Regions from separate parts of the Homo sapiens genome. Here all the other regions are linked to region 3. The links are contacts of gene promoters, found by promoter capture Hi-C in blood cells and fetal thymus (Javierre and others, 2016). All regions are on one chromosome and are shown on one strand. Each heading gives the region's core, a stretch centred on a gene start or on the middle of the fragment in contact. The rest is flanking DNA. Distances are from core to core; before and after follow the strand shown.

Region 1 (3,059 bases), core at 224-2,723, 630 kb before region 3:
ACGTATATATTATATACATGTGCGTGGGTATCTATGTACACTCTTGATTGATTCTGTTTTTCTGAGAACCCTGACTAACACACATTTTGATACTGGGAAGTTGGGTTCTACTGTAGCGAATTTCTAAAAATGCAGAAGTGGCATTGGAATTGGGTAATGGGAAGTGACTGGAAGAAACTTGAGGTACATGCTTTTAAAAGCCTAGAAGACACTTGGTAGAAGTATGGATATTAAAGGCAATGTTGGGGATAAGAAATTACCTGTTGGGGGCCGGGCGCGGCGGCTCACGCCTGTCGTCCCAGCACTTTGGGAGGCCGAGGCGGGCGGATCACGAGGTCAGGAGATCGAGACCATCCTGGCTAACACGGTGAAACCCCGTCTCTACTAAAAATACAAAAAATGAGCCGGGCGTGGTGGGGGGCGCCTGTGGTCCCAGCTGCTGGGGAGGCTGAGGCCGGAGAATCGCTTGAACCCGGGGGGCGGAGCAGGTTGCAGTAACGCATCTGCAAAGCAGGAAGCATCAAGCAATGCTGGCAACACCACGAGAAGCGGCGAGGGAGAATTCTTCCCTAGGCTGCAGGGGGCAGGCGGCCCTTTCGGCGCGGTGACTTTGGACTTCCAGCTTCCAGAAGCCTGAGAGAATGTGCCTGTGGTCGGAGGCCACCCGGGCCGTGCTAGCGTGTTAGGGCAGCTCCGAGAAACCCGCCCAGCGTGGCCGTGCATTTCCCTTAAGCCCAGGCCTCGGCTGACAGATGCGAAGCGGTAAGAAGAGAAGGAAAGGCCAGCTCTCTGTGTCTCTGGCCGGGATGGGTACCCCCCACGCGGGGAAGGAGAGCTGCTCCTTCTGCCTTTTCTGCTGATGACAAGTGAAATGACGAGAGTGAGGAAAGCCGATGGCCGCGGCCGGCCACACGCTGCAGGACTCGGGAGCTGGTGCACGGAGCTCGGAAAGGTGATGGCACTGCCCGGAGGGGCAGCTCTCTGGATTTTGAGAAAGGCACGTCTTCCCCAGTCTAGTTTCAGACCCAGAGGAAAGCCCGGTTCTTGGCTGGCATTTAAGCTCCTGATTTTTCTCACGTTGCTTTCTCACTGTAATTGTCTTGATCAAGCTTTCACCCTGTGAGATCCACACACAGGAGGAGAGGGATGCAGCTCTCAGCCGTTCACAGAGCCCGGCCCTACCGCACTGCTCAGTGTGCCTACTCTTGGCAAGATGCAACTTCCCGTTCCGAGAAAAAGGACTTAGAAAGGATCGTAAAATGGGCTCCCAAGTCTCCTGGAATAGCAAATAGCTTTTAAAAGACAACCCTTTAATGGCCTATGAGTAACCAAGTCAAAAACAAAAGTATTGAATATCCCTTTAAATGTATGTGAGTTTAAAAAGCAAGATGGGAATACATTTGGCAAAGTTTCTTCTGGATTTTATAGAATTCAAAATACTCGAGAAATTTTTACCTATACGCCCACACACAACTGCAAAACTGTTATAAACGACGTGGGGAGATAACAAAAACGATACTGTGCAAATGCAAACAGTATGCAGCTTCTGCACTGCTGTGCCTGATGGAAACATTTCTCTCTTTTATGAGCTTCTCTTTGCGGATGGAGACGGAAGAAAGATGGGCGTATGAGGCAGGGAGGGGAGAAAGGGGGAAGAGACGCCTATTCCGGGGCTCCATGGCTGTTCTCGATACTCACTCGTGTTGCTCTTTAAATGGAACCATTTGCTGCACATTTTGAATCGTTAACATTTGGTAGAATAGGGGACAATGGATTTTCATGTAAACTATGAATTTTATGACAATGAATTAGCATGTTCATTGAACAGAAAGTAAACAAAGCTTAGTACAAAATTGGTTCAGTATATAACCTAACTCTTCTGCTGCTTAATGAAGTGATGGGATGAAACCAAAACAAATAGCTTTATGCTTTGTAAAGCACAGGGAAACATACTTTCGTGTGTAATTACTGCGTGGTTATGACAAGGCTGGTACCTGCCTGAACCATCAGTTACAAAGTTTGCAGCAACCACTCCTGCTTTAGCAGACTGGGTGTTGAACTAACAAATTACAACACTGGCATTAGAACAGAGAGGAAAATATACATGCAAATATAGTCAGTTCTGACGAACCTCCAACATCTGTTAAGCACCTACTGTGTGTGTACCAGGCACTGGGGATATGGCACAATGAGATGGGGGCATTTGCATTGTCCAGAACTCTAGGGAGGGTAGGGAGGATGAGGTATGATTGTCTTAGTTGTTCTGTGATGATTAATTTCGTGTCATCTTGACCAGACCAGGTTAGTTCAGATATTTGGCTAACCTTTATCCTGGGTGTTTCTGTGAGGGTGTTTTGGATGAGATGGGCATTTAAACTGGTAGACTGTGTAAAACGGATGGCCCTCCCTTAAGTGGGTGAGCACCATCCAATCTGAGGAGGCCCTGAACAGAACAAAAACGCAGAGGAGGGGGAATTTGTTCTCTCTCCCTGACTTCTTGAGCTGGGACATGGTTCTTTTCCTGCCGTCTTTTTATGCCATCGGCTCTCCTGGTTCTCAGGCCTTCGGACTCAAACTGAACCCACACCACTGGCTCTGTTGGGCCTCCAGCTTTGCAGCTGCCGTGGCTTCTACAATTATGTGAGACAATTTCTTATCATCTCCCCACACGTCTCCCACCTGGGTTCTGATTCTCTGGAGAACCCTAATTAATACAGATTTCCAAGAAGGAGACACTGAGGCAAGAATCTGAGGACTACTAGTTGAATAAGAATGACCCAGGAAGCATGGGTAGGAAGGAGAGTGACAGAAGTGAGACAGGGAAAGGAAGGAAGCCAGCCAAGGCTCACTGGCACTGGGGGCAACGGGCCATACTGGGAAATGGTATGGAACGGAAGCTGGTGTTAGTCTGCCTGAGGGTGAGGGAGATGGGCTAGTCATCTTCCAGCTCTCTCCCCCTTCATTGCCTGAGAGCTGCTTCTGGGAGCGTTAACTCCTTAGCCCTTCTGGCCTCTGCTGTGCAGATCATGAGAAGCCTTCAGAGGGAGCACAGCAGGTTC
Region 2 (3,096 bases), core at 392-2,891, 650 kb before region 3:
TCAATTGACTCTTCCTTCATTTATTTATGTATTTATTTGAGACGGAGTCTCACTCTGTCCCCTAGGCAAGAGGGCAGTGGCACAGTCTTGGCTCACTGCAAACTCCGCCTCCTGGGTCCGAGCAATTCTCCTGCCTCAGCCTCCTGAGTAGTTGGGATTACAGGCGCATGCCACCACACTCAGCTAATTTTTTGTAGTCTTTTTTTTTTTTTTTTTTTTTTTTTTTTTTTAGCAGAGATGGGGTTTCACCATGTTGGCCAGGCTGGTCTCGAACTCCTGACCTGAGATGATCCACTCACCTCGGCCTCCCAAAGTGCTGGGATTACAGGCATGAGCCACCGCGCCCGGCCAACTCTTACTTTCATAAAAGATTTCTCTGTAGCATGTGATGCTGTTTGACAGCACTTTAGCCACCATAGAACTTTCAAAATTGGAGTCAATCCTCAGCAACCCTGCTGTTGCCTTATCAACTAAGTTCATTTAATATTCTAAATCCTTTGTTGTCTTTTCAACAATGTTCAGAACATCTTCTCCAGAAGTACATTTCACCTCAAGGAACCATGTTCTTTGTTCCTCCATAAGAAGCAACTCTTCATCCATTCAAGTTTGATCATGAGATTGCAGCAATTCAGTGACGTTTTCAGGCTCCACTTATAATTCTAGTTCTCTTGCTATTTCCATCACATCTGCAGTTCCTTTTTCTACTGAAGTCTTGAACCCTTCAAAGTCATCCATAGTGGCTGGAATCAGCTTCTTCCAAATTCCTGTTAATGTTGATATTCTGACCTCCTCCCATGAATCACAGCTGTTTTTAATGGCATTCAGAACAGTGAATCCTTTCCAGGATTTCAATTCACTTTGCCTGACCGAATCCATTAGAAGAATTACTGTCTGTGGCAGCTATAGCCTTTATAAAATGTGTTTCTGAGATTGTAGGACTTGAAAGTTGAGATTACTACTTGATACATGGACTGCAGAATGGATGTTGTTTTAGCAGGTGTAGAAACAACATTCATATTCTTGTATATCTCCATCAGAACTCTTGGGTGATTAGGTGCCTTATTAATGAGTGTTAATATTTTGAAAGAAATATTTTTTTCTGAGCAGTTACTCTCAAAAGCGGGATTAAAATATTCTGTAAACCATGCTGTAAACAGATATGCTGTCACCTGGCTTTGTTTTTCCATTTATAAAGCACAGACAGAGTAGTTTTAATATAATTTTTAAGCATTCTAGGATTTTCAGAATAGTAAATAATCACTGGCTTCAACTGAAAGTCACTGGATACATTGGCCTCTAACAGGAGAGTCAGCCTGTCTTTTGAAGCTTTGAAGCAGATGTTGACTTCTTCTCTCTAACTGTGAAAGTCCTGGATGACATCTTCTTCCAAAAGAAGCCTGGTTCACCTACACTGAAAATGTGTTGTTTCGCATAGCCACATTCATCAGTGATCTCATCAGTGATCTTAGCTAGATCTTCCGAGTGTGTTGTTTCACATAGCCACATTCATCAGTGATCTTAGCTAGATCTTCCGGATAACCTGCTGCAGCTTCTGCAAAGCGCTTGCTGCCTCATTTGTAATTGTACTTTCTAGAAACGACTTCTTTCCATAAATCTCATGAACCAACCTCTGCTAGCTTCAGTCTAGCTGCAGCTTTTTTTCTGCAGCTCCTCTCAGTCTTCAAAAGATTGAAGAGAGTTAAAGCTGTGTTCTGGATTAGGCTTTGGCCTAAGAGAATGTTGTAGCTGGTTTGTTGTGGTCTGGTCTACCTAGACTACTCACACTTTCTCCATATCAGCAATAGGGTTGTCTTACTTTGTTATCATTTAAATGTTCACTGGAGTAGCATTTTTAATTTCTTCAAGAACTTTTTCTTTGCATTCAGAACTTGGCTAATTTTTTGCCATAAGAGGCCTAGCTTTAGGCTCTCTCATCATTTGACATGCCTTCCTCAATAAGCTTAATTATTTCTAGCTTTTGATTTAAAATGAGAGATGACTCTTCCTTTCACTTGAGCACTTAGAGGCCATTTGTAGGGTTATGAATTGGCCTACTTTCAATATTATTATGTCTCAGAGAATAGGGAGGCCTGAGGAGAGGGCAGGAGATGGGGAAAGCCAGCTGATGGAGCTGTTAGAATACACACAACATTTATCAATTAAGTTCACCTTCTTATATGGGCTCAGTCTGTGGCACCATTGCAATAGTAACAACAACTGTCACTGATCACAGATTACCATAACAGAAATAATAATAATTTAAAAGTTTGAACCACTGTGTGAATTACCAAAATGTGACAGAAGAACACAAGGTGAGCCCATGCTGCTGGAAAAATGGCGCTGGTAGACTTTCTGGATGCAGCATTGCCACAGACCTTCAATTTTTAAAAATAAAAGCAGTATCTGCAAAGCACAATATAGTGAAACACAATAAAAAAAGGTATGCCTGTATGGATTGCAAATAATTTCTCCTAGTTTACCAACATAATTTCCCTTTTAAGGAGTGCCGTTTGATTAATAGAAATGTTTAATTTTAGCATATATTAAGTTTTATATTTATAGTTCTAAAAATTTTAGAGAATTGTTTCATATATTTATGCCTTTGATTTTTGTTTATGGTGTGATGTAGGGATCCAATGTTATTTTTTTCATACTGATAATTAATTGCCCCAGCACCATTTATTAATTAGCCCCCAATTTTCCCACTGGCTGATTTTTAATGCCATCTCCAACAACTATCATAGTTCATCAAATGCAGAAACCTCTTTCAGGCTCTCTTTTCTGTTATTTTTTTTCAACGTTTATATCTCTATATAAATACTACGTTTTCTTAATTTCAGTAGCTTTATATTTATTCTTGATGTCTGATGGGGTATACCCCTCCACTTTCTTCAGTTTCCTCATTAGAAGTATTTTATCTGTTTTTGGTCTTTCATTATGTTATATAAATTTAAGAATTATTTTATCAAATTCCACAGAAGCCCTGTTGAGATTTTGGTTGGAATTCCTTAGCATGTGTGTGTTAAATAAGGATAATATTTAATTTTCTCCTAAATTTTTCATTCATTTTCAACATTTAATAATCATTCACTGAGT
Region 3 (3,312 bases), core at 761-3,260:
TACCATGAAATATATGGGGACGCACCCCCCAAAAACGCTCAGCAGTCAGTCAGAAATTCTTAGAAAGTGGAAACAACTGCGAAGCCCTACCCCAACCCAATCAAAACATCCCACCCGGAAAAGAGCGACTTGTTTCTTTTTTCTATTGGAAATGAGTGGTAAACTGAGTTCGGTTTGGCGGTGTTTTCTTAGCTGACTCTCGGCTACAATCAAGCCATTTTCGGACACATTCCCATGTAGGTACCAGGGGTGCTCTGGAGGAAGCTGTCGACGCCTGTTCAGCTAATTTAGGTTTTCTTTGTCTAATTACTGTGGAGCTTAGGGAGAAGGAGCCGGCTCAGGGCAGTAAACTGACACTCGGTCTCTGTGTGTGGTATCCAGGCAGGGTTTGATGGAAAAAGCCTGCTTCCACTCAACCTCAGGTCACTGTCTGGGGCCAGCCCCGGCCCACCCCCCTCCCACATACCCCTCCCCTCCCCACCCGCCCTCTCTGCATCTACAGCCCCACCAGCACACTCAGCCAGGAGCAGTCCCCCGGCACTCCAGGGGCACACAGGGCTCCTGCCGCCCCAGGGGGCCTGCCTAGGCTGTGCGGCTGTGAAGGCTCTTTGCCTGGTGTCTTCCTCCTGATTACTGCACAACCTCCCTTTCTCCTGCCTCCTGCAACTCCCCAGGCTCCCCAGCAGGCACACCCGTGCACCTCGGTCCTTTCAGCCTAGACGCAGCGGGGTGCCCAGCTCTACCTCCTGTTTGGTCCGCTGGTCTGCAGCACCTTCTTTCTGGGCCTCCCCCTTCAGCCCTTGGGAGGCCCCGCCAGCTCCGGCCTCCTGCTCTCCTCCTCCCTCTCCCAGCTCCTATCCCTGGTCGGACTACATTTCCCTGCACGTGTAATCCAATAACTAACTGTCGGGTCTCATTGGAAGTGATTGCTCCCGAGGGCACATCTCTCTCAGAGCCTGACTCTTACTTAGGGAGGAATTAGCCACAACTGGGGAGAAGTGTTCTCGGACAGGAGTTAGCTGAGACCTGGCACAGTTTTGGGTGGGCAATGTTAAGACGGAGGATGTAAACCTAGTGACAGCTGCACACCCCTTCAGGACTGACTATAAATATAGCCATCTCGCTTATCTCAGGGTCTTTCTTTTTCTTTCTCTTTCTTTCTTTTCTTCCTTCCTTCCTTTTTCTTTTGCACTTTTTTCTTACAGAACACTAACTGGGGTGCGGGGGTGGGGGGAAGAAGTGGAAGCAAATGCAACCCTAAGTCCCATGAGATCCAGGTTTCCAGAGTCTTTGAAACTTGGCCTAGGTTTCTCAGTGTAAATCCCTCTGCTCAAAGTTCCGAAAACGTCCACGATCGCCAGCGGCCCGCAACCCTGCGGCGGCCCCCAGTCGCCCTAACAATTGTCGGGGAGCCTGCAGGCCCTGCCAGAAAGAGAGAGGATTGGCACGTTACCTTTGGGCGTCTGGCACCCCGGCGTGTGGCTGAGGGCGGCAAAGTCTAAACGAAGTTGACAGATGGAGTCAGTATCGGCCCTGGGGAGGGCGGCCAGGGAGGCTCCGAGCAGCCGCACCCGCAGCAGCACCACTCGGCCCGGCGGGCCAGGAGGAGGAAGGGGGCGCGGAGGGGCGGGGCTGGGTCCTGGGATGGGACGCGGGGCTTGCTGCGGGGGGCAAACAGAAAGAATATTTCATGAAGTCAGAGGTGGTCGAGTTTTGCGAGGGGTGGGGGTCGTCCCCCTGGCAGAACCGGAGTGAGTCTGTGATCCCTCAATTGGAAAGAGGGTGAGTGAGGGAAAGGGGAGGAGGCCGCGAGAGGAATGAAGAGCGAGGAGACCCTGGAGAGCGGGGAGCGAGATAAGAGAGGGAGGCGGCCGCCAGGTCGGGAGGGGGAGGAGTGAGCGCGGCGGCGCGGAGCGAGGAGGGGGCAGGGCGGGGTGGGGGGGGAGGGAGGGAGGGAGGGAGCGAGGAGGGCGGCCGGGGAGGGCGAGGGAGGGAGGAAGTCCGAGAGACAGAGCGAGGAGCGCTCCTGAAGGGAGACGTCGGGCTCGTCCCCGGGGTCCAGGCCGCGGTCCCACTCGCGGGCGCAGTCGCCCGGCGCCGGCCGCTCGGCCCCGCGGCCTGGGAGGCCGTTGCGCAAGGCAGGGCCCGCGGCTCGGGGAGGGATGCGCCGGGCGTTGCCTCCCGCCCGCCGCCGCCGCCGCCGCCAGAAGCCCCAGAGGAGCTGAGGGAGGCGACGCCGAAGCGCTGGCCCGGAGTGGCCACGGCTGCAGCCCGGGCGGCGGGCTAGGGCGCTCGCAGGGCTTCTGGGCCGACCCCGCTCCGGCGCCTCCGCTTCCCGCCCGGGGCCCGCCCTCGCGGCCCGGCCTCGCTCCCGGGTCCCAGATGACCACCGAGGGCGGGCCGCCGCCGGCCCCGCTCCGCCGCGCGTGCAGCCCGGTCCCCGGCGCGCTCCAGGCCGCCCTGATGAGCCCGCCGCCCGCCGCCGCCGCCGCCGCCGCCGCCGCCCCGGAGACCACCTCCTCCTCCTCGTCGTCGTCCTCCGCCTCCTGCGCCTCGTCCTCGTCCTCCTCCAATTCGGCCAGCGCCCCCTCGGCTGCCTGCAAGAGCGCGGGCGGCGGCGGCGCGGGCGCCGGGAGCGGGGGCGCCAAGAAGGCGAGCTCGGGGCTGCGGCGGCCCGAGAAGCCGCCCTACTCGTACATCGCGCTCATCGTCATGGCCATCCAGAGCTCGCCCAGCAAGCGCCTGACGCTCAGCGAGATCTACCAGTTCCTGCAGGCGCGCTTCCCCTTCTTCCGCGGCGCCTACCAGGGCTGGAAGAACTCGGTGCGCCACAATCTCTCGCTCAACGAGTGCTTCATCAAGCTGCCTAAGGGCCTCGGGCGGCCCGGCAAGGGCCACTACTGGACCATCGACCCGGCCAGCGAGTTCATGTTCGAGGAGGGCTCGTTCCGCCGCCGGCCGCGCGGCTTCAGGCGGAAGTGCCAGGCGCTCAAGCCCATGTACCACCGCGTGGTGAGCGGCTTGGGCTTCGGGGCGTCGCTGCTGCCCCAGGGCTTCGACTTCCAGGCGCCCCCGTCGGCGCCGCTCGGCTGCCACAGCCAGGGCGGCTACGGCGGCCTCGACATGATGCCCGCGGGCTACGACGCCGGCGCGGGCGCCCCCAGCCACGCGCACCCTCACCACCACCACCACCACCACGTCCCGCACATGTCGCCCAACCCGGGTTCCACCTACATGGCCAGCTGCCCGGTGCCCGCGGGACCCGGGGGCGTCGGTGCGGCCGGGGGCGGCGGCGGCGGCGACTACGGGCCG
Region 4 (3,120 bases), core at 326-2,825, 750 kb before region 3:
GACTTCTAGCTTCCAAAAGGGTGAGAAAATAAATGTATGTTGTTTAAGCCACTCGGTCTAGTATACTTTGTTATAACAGCCCTACCAAACTACTAACAGCAGGTACAGAAAAAAAAAAACTTCGAAATCATTCTAAAGTTTGATACCAAATTAATATCGAGAGAAATTTTTTACCCCTAAAAGAACTAGATGCCATGAAAATAAATGAATCCAAGAATAAAAGCTCTTGAAATTTTCAAAAAGGTCCAAAGACACATGACTTATACAGTCATAATAATGTAGTAACTGACCACCGGTTTAAACAAAATTGAAATAAGGCACAAAAGGCGGATGTGTGTTTGGGGGCAGGCAAGACAGGTAAACCAGGGAGTGACCATCTTTTCTCTCACATAATGGGAGGCTGACAGCTAATGTCTAAAACGGACCACCAAGAAATGGCAGATTAGAAGAATCTGGAAATGTTGCAGTGGATGGCAGGAGAGAGTGGAATGAGTCTGGGGTATGTTGTATAATAGAGTATTTGACCTCTGTCCCTGGTTTCTGGGAGCGAGTCTTAAATCCTTGGTGTTTTCCGGCAATAGGAGGGTCTTTGTTATTCATGATCCTCTCAAACCACGCCCTAGTATAGGCCAAGATGACTCAACAGCAGGACTGGCCATTCCAGAAAGACCATGGGATTAGAGGGTTAGGGTTTTGAGCAAAGCACCAGCAAACCAACCTCCTGTGGAGAGGCGGGGCTGCAGATTAGGTTCAGTCCAACACGACTTAATCAATCATGCCTACGTAACTTATTTAATACAAATAAAATGGCAAAACAACAAAAAAGGAAGTCCAGAAAAACATTATCATTCATCCAATAAACCCAATGAGACAACTCAAGGTTACCTTGAGTTCCTCTCCTTCCCTCTGGCACCCCCTGAATCAAATAATCAGTATCTTTTGTCTGAATCAAAAATCAACTATTCCTCTCAATCCTACTGTTTCCTCCTGTTGCTCTCCCACTTAAGACCTTCGTCTTCTCCCCTCAATGCTGCAACAGACGTATAACTGGTAACTCTGCCCCATTTTCTCTCCACTGCAATCCACCCTCAGCAAATGCCAGTTAGTTCTCTAAAATATGGAGCTAATCAATATTATCCCTACCTTTAAAATAATCTTCTATGAAATCCACTGTTTTGTGGTCTGCACAGCCCACAACCTCCTCCACATCCCGTTCAAAGCCTGTCACAGCTAGACCCGTCCACACTGCCTACTTCATCTCCACCACTCCTCTCCTCTGACATTCCCCACATGAGCCCATTCACCTCTTACGAACCTGCCACATGCTTGTATTCATGTAATTCAACCTCTTTGCACCAAAGAGAAATTTCCAAGTTTATTAAATCTTTACCAATATTTCAAGTCATGCTCAAATGTTATTTTAGTCTCCCTGATCCCTCCTTCTATTAAACTTCTACTACATAATGTTAATATTCACTGTGTTAAATTTTAGATATTTTATTTGTTTCTTCTTTGAAAACACATCTTTAATCAATTTTATATCCCCACTTCTCAAGCTGTGGGATCTGACATGCTCATGTCAGGACTGAACTGAATTAGAGGACATCTAGCTGGTGTCCGCTGGAGAGCTGCTTGCTTGGTGTGTGGGGAAAACTTCACACACACCTGGTATCAGGAGTGTGTACTGAGTTAGTGGCTGTGTGAACATAGAAAGTAGGAAAAACACTTGGATTTTTTCCTATCTCTTTATAAGCAAATAAGCAGATAACCGAAATGGACCCCAAGATGAACCAGACAGAAGAATTAGTAGATAAGAACTTAAAAGAGTCTATAACAAATGTTATTAAAATATATGTAATCATAATGAATAAACAGATGGTTGTTCTAAATAGAGGAATTAAAATTATAAAATTATTTTTTAAAAAGAAATGCAATGCAAATTCTAGAACTGAAAGGTATACTGTCTGAAATGAAAAATACACTGATTAGGCTGCACAGTAGGTAGAAGATATTTGAAGAAACAGTCAGTGAACATGATTATAGATCAATATAGTTATAGAAATAGATTTATCTAAAGATATATAGTTCTTTAAAGTACTGGAAGAAAAAAAGTCTGAAATTAAAGTTGTAAAAGGCATTTTTCAAGTAAAAAAAAAAAAGTTCATTGCAAACAAATCTGTATGACAAGAAATGCTGAAAGAAGTTCTTCAATCTGAAGGGGAAGTGATACCACAAAGCAATTTGGTAGGAGAGTTTATAATGATGAAAGGACAAATTCATCAGAAAGACATAACAATCAAAACTGTATACACCTAATACAAGAGCTTCAAAACCCATTAAACAAAAACTGATTGATAGGGAGAGATAAATACACAATCATAGTTTGAGGTTTTAATATTCCCTTTCAATATTAATAACTAGATATTAAAAAACAAACAAAAAACATAGAAGATATGAACAGCACTGTTGGTCATCCTGACCTGACATTTATAAAACTCCTTTTCAGGTGCTCATGGAATGTTCACCAAGATAGACGATATGCTGGGCCATAAAGTAAGTCACAGGCAATTCCAAAGACCGAAATTCCGAAGATTACAAAGGAATCTTCGTTAGCAATAGAAACACAATATCCAGAAAAGTATCCAGGTATTTGGAAATTAATACACTTCTAAATAACCCAACATTCAAAGTAGAAATTAAGAGGGAAACAAAATATTTTGAAATGAATGATAAGAAACATTTATCAAAATTTGTGGAATGCCACCAAAGCAGTAACTTAAAATCTTAGAGAAAAAATATTTAAAATTAAGAATCTATGTTTCCACCTTTTAAAAAAAAAACTAGAAAAATAAGGGCTAAATAAACTCAAAGTAAAGGGGAAGGAGGGCAGGAAAAGGAAGCAGAATGACAGAAATAGGAAAAAAATAAACAGTGGAAACCAATAACATAAGTAAAAAGAATTTGAAAAAAATTAAAGCCAAAAGTTCTTCACCAACAATTAATGAATTGATGTTTCAAAAAAACTCTCTAGAAATGAAACAAAAATTATCAATTTCAGTAATGAAAGAGGGAATAACCATAGATACTAAAGACATTTAAATAGCAATAAAGACAATGAAC
Region 5 (3,212 bases), core at 168-2,667, 710 kb before region 3:
CTGACCAGATCTGGGGATGCACGGGCTCTTCTTTCATCTCCTCAACAACAGCAGCAGAGACCTCAAAAGGCTGTGTGAAATTCCTGCCATAAGAAGCTATAAGATGCGGCTTCTGAGAGGGGTGTCAGCTAGATTTGTTTCACAGGACAGATGCCATTCCTTGATTCTGTACTGTGTGCCATGCACTGTCTTTTAAACCAATAAATCTGGTCACAAGAGCAACTGCCAAAACCACTATAAAACCTGAGTGCCCTAATTACATCCTAAAAGGTCACAATCAACCTGTGACAGCTCCTCCTGATCTTCAATACAATTCATGCTAAGGAAAACAATCAGATAAATCCAAATTAACCAAACATCTAAGCAGAACAACTCCTTTTCTATCGGTCACCTCTGGGTGACAAGAGGTCCAGTTCAAATCTGACCTTTAACTGAAAGGTCCAAGAGGTGAAAAGTTTGATATTCTATTACTGCTTCCACACAGAATTACACGAAAACCAGAAATTCTAATTTGTAGGTGCAGATCTTTAATGCTGTGTCTCCTTTCTCCCCCCACCAAAGAAGTATTTTAAATGTTTAAACCAAAATGAGTTTTGCCCCTAATAAATTTTAAAATATTACTAAGATATTTATAATGAAAGTTACCAGAGAAACTTGTTTTTCAACTATCCTTTAGTCCTATAAAAACTAGGCCAAAACTCATTTAAGCTTGATTTTTCCATTTAAAAAATCCAGCCATAAAAGAGAATGGGATAGTACTGAGAATATATAAAACAATTCTAACTTTTCAGTTCTAATGAAAAGTGCAAATAAAGGTAGTAATCTTTTTCTTAAAGATAACCTTGTTTTCACAGAAATGCACTTGGAAATAGGGTTTTTAAAGTGCTGTCAAGGTACTGTGGTTCTACAGATACTTTGCTTCTCTGCCCTTGCAAGAGAATCAACTGCTCTGGAGGATAATTCCCCCTTTAGTTACCAGAGAGCAAAACCCTGGTCCTTTTCCTGCTCACTGCTAACTCCTGGAGGATTTTGCCCAGTAAAAGCTAAGGTAGAAATGGAGGGAATCTGTTCAGTCAGGATTTATTCATTTAGAGTTCTACATCGAATTTTAAACAACCAATTAGCACCGGCATTGGTGAAACTCCAGAAGGGCTGGGAACAGGAACCTGCATGACACAGCACTGCAGAAAAGTGCTGGTGACTAACAGCCAGTCACACATAGGGCACTTCTATCCAACACAAGCCTTGACCATTCCGCAGTTCCTATTAAATATTTCCCAGTTTCTTTTTTTTTTTTTTTTTTGAGACGGAGTCTCGCTCTGTCACCCATGCTGGAGTGCAGTGGCAGGATCTGGGGTCACTGCAAGCTCTGCCTTCCGGGTTCATGCCATTCTCCTGCCTCAGCCTCCCGAATAGCTGGGACTACAGGCAACCACTACCACGCCCGGCTAATTTTTTTGTATTTTTAGTAGAGACAGGGTTTCTCTGTGTTAGCCAGGATGGTCTAGATCTCCTGACCTCGTGATCTGCCCGCCTTGGCCTCTCAAAGTGCTGGGATTACAGGTGTGAGCCACCGCGCCCGGCCCCGAGTTTCTAAAATACAAGTTCATTTCCACACATGATTACTTAACTATAACCATCATTTATCAGTATTTTTTCCTCTCTCTCTCTCTCCAAAGAATTTTCACTTCCTAGGTAAAAGTCATACAGTAATGACTAACAATATTATGCATATATTATGTCATAATTGACATAAAAGGCCACATATATGATTCCACTTATATGAAAGTTCAGAATAAGTAAATCCATGGATGCAGAAAGTGGGAAAGGATTGATAATGGATTCAGGGTTTTCTCCGGGTGTGATGAAACTGTTCTGGACTTAGATAATGGTGATGGTTGTACAACTTTGTGAATAACTGTGCTTCAGAATTCCTCTGAGCATTAGTTTAACATCATTAGCACCATAAACACAGAACCCCAAAAAACTGAACACAAAAAGAAATACAGGATGGTATCATTTTTTAAAAAGTGCCCAACATGACTAAATTCCTGAAGTCTGATTCCAGATCAGTTGAGGCAAAGGTACACCAGGGCGAGGAGTGAAAAGGTACCAGGAGGGTAGGAGAAAGCTTTACCCTCGCAGTGATGGAAACAGAGCTCAGGTACTGAAACCCAGGGTGAAGAGTAGCAAATAAAGCAGCAGAACAACTCCAAGCTAAACAGACTGACCTTGCGGGAAGATGTGAGTGGCCTAGACTTTCTAATCCTTGACAAACATCAACACCACCAACTCCATTCCAGCAAGACTGCCAGGAAGACATGAAAATAAAGAAGCTAAACAATGCAAAATCCCAAGTGATATCAAGAGTCTACATATGTTTATTCAAATAACAAAATACTTGACCATCTCAACAATAATGTTCAGGAATGAGAGAGGAACAAAATCAAGAAAATATTACTAAGCTATTCATAATGAAAGGATTGGATAAAAAGATATTCTCCTAAATTTATACTACTACATAAAAACAAAGTTTCATTTGTCTCGACTTGTCAAATCTTTAGGATGAAATAAACCAATATCACCGCTGACAAATATAATAACTATGGTAAACAGGCATGCCAAAATCAATGCAGAGTTTCAGAAAAGGTCAAGAAACCAACCGTCAGCTTAAATTGGTTAATTTCATTAAAACTGTTAAACATGACAGGATGTCGCTAACTCCCAGGTTCTTTTATATGAGCAAAGTTGGATTAATTTGACCCAAATTTTGTATAATAGCTTTTCCAATTTCCAAAAATACATCAACTTTGTCACTGATCTTACAAATTCTGCTTTCCTTCTCTAGCTCTATCTCAAAAGAAGCTTCTCGAAGGCCATAAATCTTGACATAGTGAAAGCAAAATAATCACAGCACTCAACAGTGCCGTTAACATTTCTGAGCCGTGAGGGATTAAGCAGGCAGATGCTATGGAAAGTGCCTGTCAGGAAAGGACAGCCCAGAGTTCAGAACGCACCGCAGCTGCGAAGGATTGAAGCTGCTAGCTATGGAATCAAGCTCAGGAGAAACTCTGGGCACAATTCCGGCATCCGAAATAAATTAAAGTAAACAGTGTTGCTCTCTCTCTCATCCACCCTGTTAGCAGCCTCTCGGCTGAGCGGGAGACCACACACTCGGACCACACAGCGCCAGCTGAACTCCCTCGCACGCA
Region 6 (3,331 bases), core at 596-3,095, 840 kb before region 3:
AAGTGGGGACCATGACCTCCCAGGCACCGATGAAGCTCTTTAAGCTATAGCAGAAAACACAGAGATCAACCACGTTGCTAAATAGCAGAAATCAGCCCCGCCCTGAGGCAAATGCTTTAAACCCTCCCATGAAGTCCACACCCAGGCCCCCTCACTGCCGACATACCTAGGCAGGACGTCGCTCCCTGCTTTTCCTTGTGAGGACCAAGTGCCGCCCCCTCTGTGTGTCGTTCCCTAATGCTTTGCACTGATGACCCTGCATTTCATGCTTCTTGCTTTGGAAGGCCAGCTGACCTCATTTTGGGGTGGCTCGGGATGGCCCGCCACCACTCTTGGGGCGACTCCACCTGCAATTCTGGGTGAACAGAAGAACCAGCATTTTTCTTTTGTTCAGCCAGAATTCTTGGTGTTCTTATCTACTCCCAGGCCTTATATATTGCTTATATACTGCTGATTCACAAATCTGTATCTAGATTTCTCTCCTGGGATCTAAACAAGGACATTCAATCACCCACTGGATATCTCTACCTGTATGTCACCCATTCAACAACAACAAAAAAAAACCCAGGTTCTCGTGAGCCTGTGTTTTCCCTGAATTTCTGTCTCAGTGAATGGTATCATTCTCTACCTAGTCATCCAAGGAATTGAATCTAGAATAATTTTTTAAATTACTTTGACCAAACTATATTTTTTCTAATATACCAAATCCCTTATTTAGGTATTCATACTTACATATATAGTAGAACATTTGGGTCAAACAGTTTTACCTTGAGACAGACACAGACCACACACACACACACACACCCCCCCTTCAAACTCATGACAAACCAGAGAGGGTTATTTATTATTATTATTTTTCTGAGATGGAGTCTCACTCTGTCACCCAGGCTGGAGCACAGTGGAGCCATCTTGGCTCACTGCAAGCTTCTCCTCTTGGGCTGAAGCGATTCTCCTGCCTCAGCCTCCCGAGTAGCTGGGATTACAGGCACCCGACACCACACCAGACTAATTTTTGTACTTTTGGTACAGACGAGGTTTTGCCCTGTTGGCCAGGCTGGTCTGGAATTCCTGATCTCAAGTGATCCACTTGCCTCGGCCTCCTAAAGTGCTGGGATGACAGGCATGACAACCGTGCCTGGCCAGAAAGGGTTATTTTATTTATGATAGCTAGAGTTTGAGTTTCAACAGATGAATTTATACACATGATAATATATGTTTGTGAATCTCCTTAAATACATGTATACATTTTAAAAAGTGTGTGTGTATATATACATATGTATATATGCAGTGTATGCATACATCTGTTTGTGTATAAGTGTGTGTGTGTGTGTGTGTGTGTGTATCTATTTGAGGCTGTGCTCAAATAAAAGGCTACGATGGAACTTATAGAAATAAAACAGAGAAAAGCAGAACTACTCTGGTTGAAGAGGCAGGAGCCGTGAGGGGGTGGGCATCCTTGTCCTCTGCCTGCTCCCCAACCCACCCTGGCAACTCTCAAGCACCAGGAACTATAAGGGCACCCATTTAACACTCGGAAACCACACAGATGCAGACAGTATATGGAATGACTGACACTGCAACTCCAGCTAAAAGTGTTAATTGTGAAATTCATATAAATTATACTTTCCTGAAAATTTCACATAATAGAGCTCCAAAGCACAGCACAGTGTCCTATACCACGTGCTATAGCAAGGATGCAGGAACACAGTCATTAGATTTGCGAAATTGTTGTTACACAGTTTTAAAATGGTTTACTTTCTAGTTATCGTCTGACTTACTGAGGTCAAGCTGAAGTCTTCATGGATACTTCCAAACAAGTCAGGGGAAGAAACATCAACAGAGAGACTGAACATAGAAGCAAGTAGGAACAGTTACAAATAAAGCACTCAAATTCAAAAATGCAATGAACTATACGCAAATTTAAACGTGCAATGAATTATATGGAAAACATTTGGTGAAAGTCACATAACTTTTTTTTTTTTGAGATGAAGTCTTGCTCTTGTCCCCCAGGCTGGAGTGCAAATGGTGCGTTCTTGGCTCACTGCAACCTCCTCCTCCTGGGTTCAACCCATTCTTCTGCCTCAGCCTCCTGAGTAGCTGGGATTACAGGCGCCCGCCACCATGCCTGGCTAATTTTTATATTTTTAGTAGAGACAGGGTTTCACCATGTTGGCCAGGCTGGTCTCAAACTCCTGACCTCGTGATCCGCCTGCCTCGGCCTCCCAAAGTGCTGGAATTACAGGCATGAACCACCATGTCCGGCCAGAAACTTTTAATAAGTGTTTTAGACTTAACAGTTAACAGCTCGAAGAAGGTACTATGGATAATCTGTTAACATGGGCAACATGACATTTAATCCATAATATGAGGGATCTGACTAACAACCAATTCCTGGTGAAATAATGAGCTAAAAATATGAAATCAAATCAAAGAAAACCTAGGAGAATTAAAAACTTATTGGGTCTCTAGGGAGGTGATAGTTTTATATACTGAAAAGCAAAAGCCAAAACCAGTAAATAGACAAACATGGATAAATTCCCAAGTTGTCAACTGAAGATATAAGAGGCATTTATTTCAGTATTATCTGTGTCAGAGCATAAAGTACACAGAAGTTACACATGCCAAGTATAATTCAGAAAGAACGGATTTCTTAAAAAAAAAACCAGCACTTTACAATGCTGTCCTATACAACAGCATTATAAAAGAATTACCATATGGATTTGTAAACATCAAGAGCTAACATGTGTCCACTGGAGCTCCAATAACTAAGCTTGACATAATTCTACCAACATGCTTAGTCTCTAGCAAGAGCAATGGTGCCTCCCCCTAACACCAGAATTGTAAAAATCATCAACTAGGAGTTACATATTTACATTTAACACTTTATTATTTATAAAACCTGTTCTTTGGATAATTAATAAGCTAATCATGTCTTCAATTTGCTTGATTTGTCTCTAATAAGGCAAAGATGAGTTGAAAAGATAAACTATGGAAAGAATATAGGTCGAATATAAAAAAAAACTATTACTTCGATATGAACAATCTTTCTTTCTTACTAGAAGTCTTAGGATATAAGACCAAGCATAAAACTTGAGCCTGTATTTTTAATTCTCTTAAATGCATTAATGAGATTAATTTAATTTTTACTTACTGTGTAGTATCTATATCTGCATCAGGCTTGGTGCTCAACTGTTCCAGACAGTATATAAAAACCTAAGTGAAAACATAAGTTTCAGAACTCTCAGAGGAATGAACTCCTAGACATTAATCTATTTGGACACTAAAGATAACTTTACATAAAGTAGAATTATATATCTCATTAGTGGTGTGG
Region 7 (3,149 bases), core at 398-2,897, 820 kb before region 3:
TCCCGGGTTCACGCCATTCTCCTGCCTCAGCCTCCCGAGTAGCTGCAACTACAGGCGCCCGCCACCACGCCTGGCTAATTTTTTGTATTTTTAGTAGAGATGGGGTTTCACCGTGTCAGCCAGGATGATTTCAATCTCCTGACCTCGTGATCCACCCGCCTCGGCCTCCCAAAGTGCTGGGATTATAGGCATGAGCCACCGCGCCTGGCCCTAAAAGAGTAATTCTAATTCTTTAGATGAGTTGATTCAGCTTGACATTATTCAATTCTACTCCAGCAGTTCATCAGTCTACTATTTTCTAATGTTACAAAATTTTGTTCACTGAACACCTACCATGTGCCAGGCCGATGAGATTTCAAACAGTGGAAATACTGGAATAAATTTTACTCCAAATAATAACAGCAAACTCTTACTTATCTGTCAGACATTATTATCAGCACTTCACTCATGCTAACTCATTGAATTCTCAAACCAGTCCTATGGAAGCAGGTGCAGAGAAGTAATTTGCCTAAGGTCACGGCTAGGAAGTGATAGACACTGGATGTTTCTATTATGCTCCTAGTGTTCTGCGTGAAAACCTATGAATGCCATCTGTCCAAAGGCATGACAGGGGAGCATCTAATCTTTCCTGCCCACACGAACAATTTGGTTTAGGGACAGAGCAGACACAGAGAGGAAGCTGGTGCCTGCGGTGCCACTACTGTCACTGTGCAGAGGGCAAGGGGGACCCAAGGCTTGACCTCAGCATGGTGAGCCCCACAGCTCACCCAGCTGAGATCACAGAGACACAAACTGATGGTGACACACAGAAGCAGAGTACTGGAAAGACTTATCAGGACAAAACTGAAATTATTCACTTCCTAAGCCAGCAATAAGCAACTCTCATTATGTAGACCTGCGAAACCTGACGTTCGTTTCATGGAAGAACTTCCTCTGTATAGTCAACTTTTCAATAGAGTTCATACATAACTAACAAAGAAAAGAAAGTTGTGTATTGCTTTAATATTTGAATGTTCACTTATAAAGTAACTGATAACTGAAACTAAAGAAAAAATGCATTGATAAGTTGTGCTTACACGATTGGTTTTTCTGCACTAAGGAGTTTGTGTTCATGCATTACACATTTCTGTTTTTATGCACATAGTAAATTTTATAGGTTAGAAAACCAACCATTCACATAAACAAGGCTGCAGGAATCCAGCGGGTTTACAACGGAGATACTAGGCACTTGGAGTTCAAATATACAAAGAAAAAAGTTCCAGAGCACATCTCTATTTCCTTAATATCAGCATGAATTTATGGTCATGGCCAAATGAGACTCCAAAGACACCTGAGGTACTCTGACACTTAGCCACTTTCCGCCAAGGAGGAGAGGTTTAAACCACAAAGGCTGTGCCTTTGTGCAAAAAACCAAAAATGGTTTTAGCCTTTGCCCATGTCCATTTTGTGTGTTGCCAAGTCAAAAAGAAGCAGAAAGTAGCCTTTACTCTCAGAAGACCCCTATCTCCCCCAGAGCTCTTGGTGTAGAGTCGGTCTCCTGCAGAGACACGAAACACCTGTCTTCTCAGTCTCCCACGGGGGTGCCCTTGGCAGCCTAGGACAAAGGGCGTTAGAATCTATGTCCAGGAGCCGGAGGCCTTTCATGGCGCACTTGAGGTGAGGTTAGAAAGTGACTGACTTCCATGTGCCACACATAACAGAGTCATTCCTTTATGTTCATGCCTTCTATGCTATCAGTCATATGATGATGAAGATACTAAAGCATTAATAAATGTGTGACTGCAGAAGGTGGACGGGCTCATAAAAACTTCTGTAAGCTGATAACAATGGGGCTAGACTGCAGAATGTTTACATCCTTTCCAAGGGAAATTGCATACTCTATGGATGACTTTGTTCCGGGTGCCGGCTGCCAAGGTGCTATCCTTGTTTCCTCATTTGTTCACAGTCTACCGCACATCACCCAGAATTTGGCCTGACTGGCAATATCTCAATTCGGAGTCCCTGAAAAGAGTTCGAGCTTTCTTTTTTCTTTAATTGCCTATCTCATTTAATCCCTACAACCACCTTTTGAGACAGGTGCCCAGACTATTCTTTTTGTACATGAGGAAAAGTGACTTGTTCGAGGTCACACAGCTACTAAGTGAGAGGGCTTTATAATGCTTTAACTGATTTTAAACTATGACGATGGCTAGAGATGTTGGGCCTCTACATTTTAAAAAATCACTTAAATCTAACATTTTAAAGACCAGAAATGCACGGTGACTCAGCTCCACCTCTAGCCGAGTCCGTATACACACCTCACTGAAGAGGCTTCCATTAACGTAGGAGATCCAGAGTTTCCAGAAGTTAGGCAGCTGGCTCAAGACGAGTTTTGTCAATTTTTCAACAAAGGCCACCCTGTGGGGAGTTTTGTATCTCCACGCTAAGGGGGAAAAGAATAAAATACTATGATTGTACTTCTGAATCAAGAAAACACCTTTGAGCATATTGGCGCACCCCCCTCCACTCCCGCAAAACTCCAACATGCACTAGGAATAGCCTGAGTCTGCGTGGACGCTCGCGGCCCACCTGGCTGACACCGGCAGCGGTACGCTCGTCACCAGACACCCCCGCATTTCTCCTTGCCCTCTGGCAAGGAAGAGCCCCTCTCCCTCATGGCTGACCAGCAAGCCAGGGCAAGGGACCAGGTGGCCACAGCCTCAGTACTGGGAGGGCTACCGAGAGGAGGTGGCTTTGACTTATCAGCCTTGTCCTCTGGATAGTAAACGTCTCTTCAAAAAGTCCCGCCTTCTAACAGCAAAGGCAGGGGCTGCTGTGCAGCCAGTTGTGAAATTGCAGCTGATCAGCCTGTGAGAAATGCCATCATACACCCTGGGAAGTGAGAATGCAGGAAGGAATCCAGTTATCACAAGGAAACATTCTAGTGCAATCACATACTAAATAACCCCACCTAAAATAAAGAAATTTAAGAAAAACTAGAAACGTTGAAACCTCTTTGGCTATACATCATTTAACATAGCTATTGCTGTAACTGGGAAATAAGGGCTTAGACTTCTTGTGGGAAGAACAGGTTCATGGGAATAAAGCAAGTGTAGAAATTCAGGACCCACTCACCATGTCCTCTGTCTCCCTTCTTTCTTTTCACTCCC

Evidence for each region. The method cuts DNA at HindIII sites, captures the fragments that hold promoters and counts their contacts. A CHiCAGO score of 5 or more calls a contact.
Region 1: a contact is called between a fragment that was not itself captured here and the fragment with the promoter of FOXF2 in region 3, in 3 of 17 cell types (endothelial precursors, non-activated CD4 T cells and M2 macrophages). The highest score is 6.6, in endothelial precursors.
Region 2: a fragment that was not itself captured here is called in contact with the fragment with the promoter of FOXF2 in region 3 in 2 of 17 cell types (endothelial precursors and M0 macrophages); the score reaches 7.0 in endothelial precursors.
Region 4: a contact is called between a fragment that was not itself captured here and the fragment with the promoter of FOXF2 in region 3, in 2 of 17 cell types (activated CD4 T cells and total B cells). The highest score is 6.3, in activated CD4 T cells.
Region 5: a contact is called between a fragment that was not itself captured here and the fragment with the promoter of FOXF2 in region 3, in 4 of 17 cell types (naive B cells, total B cells, naive CD4 T cells and 1 more). The highest score is 7.7, in naive B cells.
Region 6: a fragment that was not itself captured here is called in contact with the fragment with the promoter of FOXF2 in region 3 in 2 of 17 cell types (total B cells and total CD4 T cells); the score reaches 6.0 in total B cells.
Region 7: a fragment that was not itself captured here is called in contact with the fragment with the promoter of FOXF2 in region 3 in 6 of 17 cell types (naive B cells, activated CD4 T cells, megakaryocytes and 3 more); the score reaches 7.1 in naive B cells.

The regions. Positions count from the first base shown.
Region 1 is chr6:760,581-763,639 of GRCh38, forward strand. No RefSeq gene overlaps it. Among named protein-coding and RNA genes, the nearest start is that of EXOC2, 69 kb to the left of the region's middle. The HindIII fragment of the contact is 732 bases long and covers 1,108-1,839 here.
Region 2 is chr6:740,110-743,205 of GRCh38, forward strand. All of the region lies in intron 1 of LOC105374873 (a long non-coding RNA gene), which reads right to left. Among named protein-coding and RNA genes, the nearest start is that of EXOC2, 49 kb to the left of the region's middle. The HindIII fragment of the contact is 634 bases long and covers 1,325-1,958 here.
Region 3 is chr6:1,387,566-1,390,877 of GRCh38, forward strand. It overlaps FOXF2 (forkhead box F2), which reads left to right and starts at 2,011. Exons shown (of 2, transcript NM_001452.2): 1 at 2,011-3,312. The coding sequence starts at 2,383. FOXF2-DT (FOXF2 divergent transcript) reads right to left here and starts at 1,896. Exons shown (of 3, transcript NR_187218.1): 1 at 1,454-1,896. It overlaps MIR6720 (microRNA 6720), which reads right to left and starts at 2,846; the gene lies at 2,749-2,846. RefSeq lists an enhancer at 3,193-3,312. The HindIII fragment of the contact is 4,023 bases long and covers 1-3,312 here.
Region 4 is chr6:640,780-643,899 of GRCh38, forward strand. The region is part of intron 1 of EXOC2 (exocyst complex component 2); the gene reads right to left. Among named protein-coding and RNA genes, the nearest start is that of HUS1B, 15 kb to the right of the region's middle. The HindIII fragment of the contact is 5,163 bases long and covers 1-3,120 here.
Region 5 is chr6:680,915-684,126 of GRCh38, forward strand. All of the region lies in intron 1 of EXOC2 (exocyst complex component 2), which reads right to left. Among named protein-coding and RNA genes, the nearest start is that of EXOC2, 11 kb to the right of the region's middle. RefSeq lists an enhancer at 3,037-3,116. The HindIII fragment of the contact is 1,423 bases long and covers 707-2,129 here.
Region 6 is chr6:552,076-555,406 of GRCh38, forward strand. EXOC2 (exocyst complex component 2) reads right to left here. Exons shown (of 28, transcript NM_018303.6): 20 at 3,152-3,213; 21 at 1,779-1,845. Among named protein-coding and RNA genes, the nearest start is that of HUS1B, 100 kb to the right of the region's middle. RefSeq lists an enhancer at 1-655. The HindIII fragment of the contact is 1,846 bases long and covers 923-2,768 here.
Region 7 is chr6:570,223-573,371 of GRCh38, forward strand. EXOC2 (exocyst complex component 2) reads right to left here. Exons shown (of 28, transcript NM_018303.6): 13 at 2,298-2,422. Among named protein-coding and RNA genes, the nearest start is that of HUS1B, 85 kb to the right of the region's middle. The HindIII fragment of the contact is 4,243 bases long and covers 1-3,149 here.